Regions from separate parts of the Homo sapiens genome. Here region 2 is linked to region 1. The links are contacts of gene promoters, found by promoter capture Hi-C in blood cells and fetal thymus (Javierre and others, 2016). All regions are on one chromosome and are shown on one strand. Each heading gives the region's core, a stretch centred on a gene start or on the middle of the fragment in contact. The rest is flanking DNA. Distances are from core to core; before and after follow the strand shown.

What was found. The method cuts DNA at HindIII sites, captures the fragments that hold promoters and counts their contacts. A CHiCAGO score of 5 or more calls a contact.
Region 2: a fragment that was not itself captured here is called in contact with the fragment with the promoter of STOM in region 1 in 1 of 17 cell types (neutrophils); the score reaches 5.4 in neutrophils.

Annotation. Positions count from the first base shown.
Region 1 is chr9:121,368,412-121,372,641 of GRCh38, reverse strand. It overlaps STOM (stomatin), which reads left to right and starts at 2,392. Exons shown (of 7, transcript NM_004099.6): 1 at 2,392-2,515. The coding sequence starts at 2,455. LOC102723324 (a long non-coding RNA gene) reads right to left here and starts at 2,749. Exons shown (of 7, transcript NR_187160.1): 1 at 2,676-2,749. RefSeq lists enhancers at 1,878-1,967, 1,427-2,387. The HindIII fragment of the contact is 8,041 bases long and covers 1-4,230 here.
Region 2 is chr9:121,110,580-121,114,809 of GRCh38, reverse strand. CNTRL (centriolin) reads right to left here. Exons shown (of 44, transcript NM_007018.6): 9 at 2,232-2,351; 10 at 1,086-1,308. Among named protein-coding and RNA genes, the nearest start is that of CNTRL, 38 kb to the right of the region's middle. The HindIII fragment of the contact is 7,260 bases long and covers 1-4,230 here.

The DNA.
Region 1 (4,230 bases), core at 1,143-3,642:
ATTGTGCAATAGAACAAGTCTAATGCAAACACAGCCTACTTTCCAAATATGAGGTCTTCAGCCACACCCCAAGAGAAGGCCTGAGGTTGGGAATGCCCTTGCACATGCTTTTCCCTCTACCTGGGATACCCTTTCCCACCTCCTGCACCGCTTATTCCCCTTCCCCAGGCTGGCTCCTTCTCATTTCTCAGGCGACATCTCAAAGCCCCTTCCTTACAGAGGTGTTCCCCTGTCCTAACCTTTGCTGTTCTCCGAATATTCCACTCCTTTCACAGCTTCCTTCACCATGTGTAATGATTCAATTACTTGTTTGTGGCCCATCTCCCAACTAGAGTATAAGGTAAACTCCACGAGGCCCTTAGCACACTCCCTGCCACATGGAAGATGCTCCAAGAAGATTTTGTTTGAATAAATGACCCCACCGACTGAATGGACTCCCTTGTGGCCAAGGGGACTCCAGAAAACTTTAAAACTGAGTTCCCAGCCAATGACAGGACAGAAGGTCAGACTCGCCTCATTATAACTTCATCGTATTGGAGTTTAGACACAACAGCTGACCAGCATTAACGTTAAAACACAGATCATAAGACTGACAGAACAGACTGTTTGTGACAATAAGATACCAAATTATAAACAAATTATACCTAAGGTCATGCCAGGCAAAGGTTAAGGCACACATCCCTTCACTTAGAGAATAAACTGTGTTCTAACTGCCACAAGGTTGTTCTCTTTCTCTAGCAGCTTAACAAGCACTGGCCTCGAGATAAGCAATATTAAAACAATTTGCAGCTCCACCAGATGTGGCCTAATGGAACCCCTATTCCACCAGCCATCATTACAGCTTTAATTGGACAAGAGGCTGATTTCAGTAACTTTCTCCTCATAGGAAAACTACCGACCATGGACTGGCTCTGGCTAGTTTACACAGACTGCATACTTGCACACCTTCCTGTCCTGAAAAGACCTTTTGACGCATGGGGTCTAACTGTAATACATGTATTGTTATTATTTTTTAGAGTCCATCAGGCTGGAGTGCAGTGATCTGATCATACATCACTGCAGCCTCCAACTCTTGGGCTCAAGTGATCCTCCTGCCCCAGCCTCCTGACTAGTTGGGACCGCAAGCACACACCACCCCACCTGGCTATTTTTTTTTTACTTTTTGTAGAGATGGGGACGTCACCATGCAGGCCAGGCATTTAACATTTAATTGGTAACTCTTCACTCCAAAATGAACATGGGTTGTATGTTACATGCATGTTTGCTCAATGGGCATGCGTCAGGACCACCCTCATGAATATTCATAGCTCCTCCTGTCACCTGCTGAATATGCATGTCTACCCAAGCTGTTCAGCATAAAGCCGCTACTCCAACCCCTCCTCCAACGAAATGCCTGTCTCTGGTCCTGGCCATTCTCCAGCCTGCGGAATGGCCACCTTGCAGGCTGTAACCCCTTACAAGAAATAAAGTCTCCTCTCCTGTTTTTTTGTTTTTTGTTTTGTTTTTTTGAGACGGAGTCTCGCTCTGTCACCCAGGCCATCTCGGCTCACTGCAACCTCTGCCTCCCAAGTTCAAGCGATTCTCCTGCCTCAGCCTCCCAAGTAGCTGGGATTACAGGCGCGCGCCACACGCCCGGCTAATTTTTGTATTTTTAGCAGAGACGGGGTTTCACCATGTTGGCCAAGCTGGTCTCGAACTTCTAACCTCAGATGATCTACCCGCCTCGGCCTTCCAACGTGCTGGGATTACAGGCGTGAGCCACCGCGCCCGGCCTCCTCTCCTTTTCCAAATTTATACATTTTGATTTTCTTAACACACCTCACTCGAGTTCGTTCACTTCGGCTGCGGCGTGATCTGCCGGCCCTCTCAGCTCAGGCTGACCTCAGCGCCCTCACTTCGGCCACTTCTGTGTCCCTCAGTCTTCTCCCCTCAACTCGGACCTCGCGCCCTCATGACAGGGCGCCATTTTCTTCCCTCTAACTCCTCAGCCCAGAGGAGGCGCCTTGGTCCCGTACCTCTGCCCGGCAAGGCGACTTTTCTTCACTTGCACTTTTGCCTCGGGTCATCCTCTGCTGCTACCTCCCCACTATCCTCACCATCTGCTCCACGTCCCGTGGCTTCCGCCCTCCCTTCCGGTGCAGGGCCCCGGCCTCATACCCACAGCCTTGGGGGCTCTCGCCCCTCAGGCCACGCCCCTCAGGCCACGCCCCTCAGCCCACAGAACTAGCGGGAAGTGACTGCGAAGCAGTCGCGCCGTGGAGGGACAGGAGGGCGGGGATTGGGAGGTGGGTCCTCCTCGATCCTGGGCGTTGATTGGCCAACTCTCACGAGGGCGGGACCTCGATTGGGGGCGGGGCGGCAATCTGGGTCTTGTGCCTCTGGCTCCTCAGGGCATTCCCGGCGGCTCCGGGTTTGGCAACGAGGACGGGGGAGTGCGACTGCGTCTCGGGCAGCATGGCCGAGAAGCGGCACACACGGGACTCCGAAGCCCAGCGGCTCCCCGACTCCTTCAAGGGTGAGTCCCGCGTCCCCTGACCCTCCCCCGTGGACCGAGCCCCCGCCCGCAGCGTGCGCTCCGAGGTCTGACAGCCGGGCTCCTGGCCAGTCTCCGCTGCTTCGGGCTGGGCGAGATCTCAAAGCCGCGGCTCCTCCCTAGTAAACTGAGCATCACGAACCCTGTTTGGCAGACTGAGGTCACGATGGAGGGGTGGCGGGCTGCCAACGGCACGTTTCCCATCGCACGGGCCCTGGTTATCTCGCGGCCGCCAGATGCCAAGCCCCATGCCAGGGCTGCACTATCTCGTGTCACGCACGCGGACTAGGAAACGCAGAGGGAACTGGCAGCCAGCGAGGCGGGGACCGGGACCCCACATCTCACCCTTTGCCCACTCCCCTTCTTTCCCGACTCACTCTCTCGAAGGCCGCCTCCTCCACCCAGCCCTGGCCTGGCCCCAGGGTGAACCCCCTCCTCCCCCAATCCCACCTCCCGAAACTTAGACCGATTTGCAGAAGGAAGAAGTCTCTCTGGCTTTCTTCTTACCTCTCTTTCTAGCTCCACTTTCTGCCCCATTTTTCCCCCTCCGCTTTCCTCTGCGTTTTGGAGAACTCTCCTTCCCGGCTTTTGTTCCTCGCCAGGAACCCTGAGTTCTCCCACCCTCACCCCCACCCTCCCTTCCCAGTCTTCAAGGCAGGAGCTGTAAGTGGCTCAGTCTCGTTCCCCTGTGGAGGAACTGGTACTCTGGGGAGGGGGTTCCAATAAAGAGAGATGGTGGACCTCTCAGGAGTCCTGGTACCCACTCAGGAGCTCTTAGTGATCCAGAGGAATTACAGTGTTTCTAAAGATGGAATTTCAGGCAGGATGGCAGTGAAAGCAATTTAGAGGGCTGGGTGGTCCTTTCCAGGACCCCTCAAAGAACATGACATTGGAGTCATCTATTCTGATTATTTGTAAAGCCAGCTTTATCCACAGCATCTTAGCTATAAGTTCCATTTCCCTTGTCCAGGGATCCCTGTGTTCAGTTCCTTCCCAGGAGCATCAAAGGAATTACAGAAATCTTTATTCCTCACTTTTTGTCTACTAATAACGTTGCAGGTTATCTTCCCAAATGGAGAGTGTAACAGGGAGGAGTTGATGAGAATAATGGCAACCACAACAACAAAAATTGAAACTAAATAGGTCAGGCTCCGTATCACTTTTTTTTTTTTTTTTGAGACGGAGTTTCGCTTTTCTTGCCCAGGCTGGAGTGTGATCTCCGCTCACTGCAACCTCCGCCTCCCGAGTTCAAGTGATTCTCCTGCCTCATCCTCCCAAGTAGCTGGGATTACAGGCGTGCACCACCATGCCCAGCTGATTTTGTATTTTTTGTAGATACAGGGTTTCACCATGTTGGTCAGGCTGGTCTCAAACTCCTGACCTCAAGTGATCCACACGCCTCGGCCTCCCAAAGTGCTGGGATTACAGGCATGAGCCACCGCGACCCCCCCAGTGCCACGTATTTTATGTATATATTATTTTATTGAATCTTCACAACAGATGATGTGGTAGGTATTCTTATCCCCATATTATACTTGATGAAACTGATAGTCAAAGAAGTTAAATTACTTAAAGTCACTTAGTTTGTATTTAAATCTAGATTTGACTGATTCTAAAACTTGAATAGGGAAAAAATGGGTGGTAACTGCCTCTTCGATAGTTAGTTGTCTTTTCCTAGATAAAAAGGTGGGTATTAG
Region 2 (4,230 bases), core at 222-2,721, 260 kb after region 1:
TTTTGAGAGAATAAGACTTTTATTGGGAAATATGCACTTTACATGTTACTAAGTTATAATTAGGTTCAGGATATTAAAAATAACCCATAAAACCTTGTGTTAGAGGCAAATGCTTTATGATGGAATTCAATATCAAGAAATTCACTACTGAGCTCTCTCTCCCAGCTGTTGATGATCTCAAATCAATTATTTTCAACCTCAAATTTAAGATTTCTCTCTCCCTCTGTCCTATAAAACTATGAGCCAGCCCCTTTAAAGCTAGTCTGCATAAAAATCTGATTTATTTTTGCTTTCCCCCAGAGCCTTGCATATAGTATACGCAGACATAAATAACTCAGTTTCTTTTCTTCCTTCACCAAGTCAACCTCTATTTGCCTTCCATGCCTTCCACTTAGCTACCAGTCAAGGAAAGATAAGCCGCTGGTCTGACTGAGAGCACCACAGTGGGCCATAATGCTGGGGGGATGCACAAACCCTGGTCAGAGTTCTCTTTCTTCCATATCCATGCAGCTGAGTGGGTAAATAGATTCAAAGTCTGTCATTGGCAGGGTCTCTAAAGTGTCCCCCTGCCTTGACTTATTCCTTTATGTGACTTGCCAGAAGGTATTAAGATCCCTTGAATTAGATTGTGGGGCATGGGGCATGTCAGGAAAAGTCAGAGGCTAGCCTTCGGCCCAGGCCTGAGGAGAATGCTCTGTTGCAGCTTATACAAAGCATTGCTTTAGGTTTTTGCTACATGCATAGTAATCAATCAAGTGGTTCTTTACTTGCTTCAGTTATTACTAATTGTGACTTCGAATATATAGTTCCAGTGCTTATTTGAAGGAGGGGATTTACTCATTCTTGAATCCCCTGGACATGCTGCCATCAAATTACTGCCAAAAACTCCATTCTTAACCATAACAGGAATCATTACAAAATAAATGCTCGATAAATCTGCTTGATAATCACTACTTTTGTTTTAGACTTTTCATGGAAACAATACCATCAACATGTTCAATTAAAAGACTTATAAAACAAAATTGGCCTACATATTCAATGTTTTCATATTTTTTTTTAAAGAATTTAAAATAACTTTTTTTAACCTGCACTTATTTTTTTTTCTTTGTCTTCCAGTTGCGTGTCCAGTGGTGTGTGGCCTCTCAAGTTCATGTGATCATTTCTAAGTTGTTCATCTGGCTCCATCTTCTTGATCTGTACTGCCTGAGCACTGTCAATAATATAACTCTCTGTGGCAAACATATTTCTCTTGTATCTGGATTTGCCAATGTAAGGGCTTTCATCTGGGGCTTTATCAATTTCAGCATACTAAAAGCAAAATAATAGATTTATGGTTTAATAAGTGATCTCCAAGCAGTCAAATGACATTATTCATTTTATTAGTGGCAAACATATCACAGAATTGCTCAAGTTTATATAAATTCTACATGCCTAGGAGCTGAAAGATATATATTATTCTTTTATCTTCTTCTTAATATACCAAAAAAGGAAATTAGAACTAAAAATGGTCTCAAAAGAATTCTTCCTCTTACCACAGAAGAGTGAAAGTTTGGACTGATTGATTAAAGAACTGCCTACAGTTATGTGATTTTTAGCACTGCTTGATCTCTCAAATTAGAAATATGGGTGTTTTATTTTGGTTTCTTGGCTCATATAAATAAAATCTCAGTCTAATATTTTTTTCAGATACATGGTGTGTAGCCATCAGTATAATATATTTTAATAATTGAATTTTTAAAAATGAAATATCATATGATATTGGTTGGAATCACTGGGTCTTAGAAGTTTGGCATTTCCTCACTTGCAGTGACATTTATGGCATTTGTACCAGTCATGATTGATTAATACTGAACCCAGTAATTACTGAACAAACCATGTAAGGGGATGACTATTCCATGGTACTGAAGCACTTTTCCCAGAAGTCTGGATTTAAAGGAGCTGATCAACCCATACACCTGGGAAAGATAGCTGCGAGTTAGACGACTGCTTTTGGTAATGGATATGGCTATGGGCAAAGATTCTTTTGAAGTTTTTTACCTCTTTAGGATTCTGTTCTAACTCCCGGAGCCAAATAAGTCATAGATTGAACCAAAATACAGTTTAATCCTCTCATAACAAGAAAGTGGAGTGATATCTGATCAAATCCCTTACATGTCCTCACCACCTGCCCTCCCCCATTCCATCCCATGTGGGCTTTAACTTTGGATTACTAAAAAATTAAAATAACTCACCTCTGATGGATAATAATTTAGTGGCTCAAATTTAGCATCAATTTTATAAAAGGCCAATTCCTGTTCCAGCTCATATTGCTTCTGACATGCTCGTGTTAATTCTATGGTCTTCTGTTTTAGCTATTGGCCCAATTTGATATGAGACAACATACAGGATCAGTAAGTTAGTATAAAGGTGTGATGATATGGTAAGTTCTCATCGTAAGTTATAATCATATATGTTTAAAAACTTCACAGTAAGCTGCACAACACTCAGAACATTTTATCTTACTTCTAAATTATAAAAAATGAAATACAAAATTATTATTTCATCAGAGATCATGTAAAAGACCTTTGAAGTTTATCTGCTGCTTCACGATATAATGAATAATGATTTTAAAAATCACTTAAATTTGTTAAACATGAAAATATTTTTGTATCAATTATTTTTGTGTAACTGGCCTAATAAATACCTGCTTCCTGATTTTCCAATAATTAGCACTAATTTCTTAAACTGACTTTCCGACTTTAACAATAGTTTCAAATTACAAGGGAAAATGATAACTGACATTAACTGCAGAGAAATAAAGAGGAATGAGAAGGATGAAAAGAAGAGCTTGGTTTTAATTGTCATACTGTTGTTGCTGTAGTATTAAGTGTTCAGAATATTATTCTTTGTAATAAAGAATAAGGGATGTGAATAAGCTCAACCAGATCCAAATATGTAATATTCAATTTTAATAAAGTAATTCTACTATAACTTTTTATTCTTAGAAATTTTTGGAGCTTGGAGAAGACAAATGATCCAATCTAATTCTCTGAATTTATAAATACAGAAATTAAGTCTCAGATTGATGAACTGACTTGTCTAAAGTTACATATTAGATCAGTGTCAGAAACTAAATATTTTATTAACTAACTACTAGTACTAGCTCCTTTCTACTAAACCAAACTTTGAGTTTATTTCAAAGATCCACTAAGTGATTTTTGTCTTTTTTTGGCCAGTATCTGATGGTAGATATCAAAGAAAAAACATGCAGAAAAATTTCATTAATATAAAAGTGCAAGCTGAAGAGAATAAAACATAAACAAACACAAACATTTTACAAGGCCCAGGAAATCAAAGTCGTGCATGATTTAGCTCACAGTCACCTCCTGATTATCCATCAAAATGGAAGTAATAGCCTAGATAATGGGTAACATTGAGCCAAATACTCAATGTGTGCCAGACATTGTGCTAAGCATTTTACATATGTTATTGCACTAAATCTTCACAACCACCCAATAAGATGATAAAAGCTGCACAGAGAAGTTAAATAACTTGCCCAATTTCACAGCTGGTAGTGGAAGAGGCAGAATTCAATTCCAAGTCTCCTGATTTCAAATCCAATACTGCCTATTCTTCCATGCTGCCTTCGATGTACTGCTGCAGGGTGTCCAGCACATTACCCACATTGATATTTTCACTGAATGATCATAAGTCTCCGAGTCTCAAGAAAGCAACTCACAATCAACACTGTCAACTAATCTTGGGTTCTCTCCTCAAAACTCATTGGCAATAGTGGCAAACAACAGGCAAATGTGACTGGAATCACAGAGAATACATGAACTGGTCTCTGCAGGCAAATAATAATAAATAGGCTGTGCATTTCAAAGTACTTTTGTGACTTTTATAAGCCCCAGGCTTAGCATATTGTAAGCACTCAATAAATATCTGTTGAAGAAATGCATGAATAAAAGCAAAATAGATGTCAAATGAACTGGAAAGTAGGCTAGTCACAGTATTAGCTTTGGATAATCAAGAGTTGACTGAAGGTAACATATTTACCAATCAGAAAAATAATTCTTTCCCCCACATTCAAATTTGCTCTCCTATATAAACATCCATTAAAAAAAAATAATACATACGCACACAACCACATTTCCCAAGAAGACAAGCCAGTTTCAAAACTTAAAATGTAAGCAAGCATATTAATGCAAGTTATCATGCAAACCCTGAAAAACACAGTTCAGGCCTGGA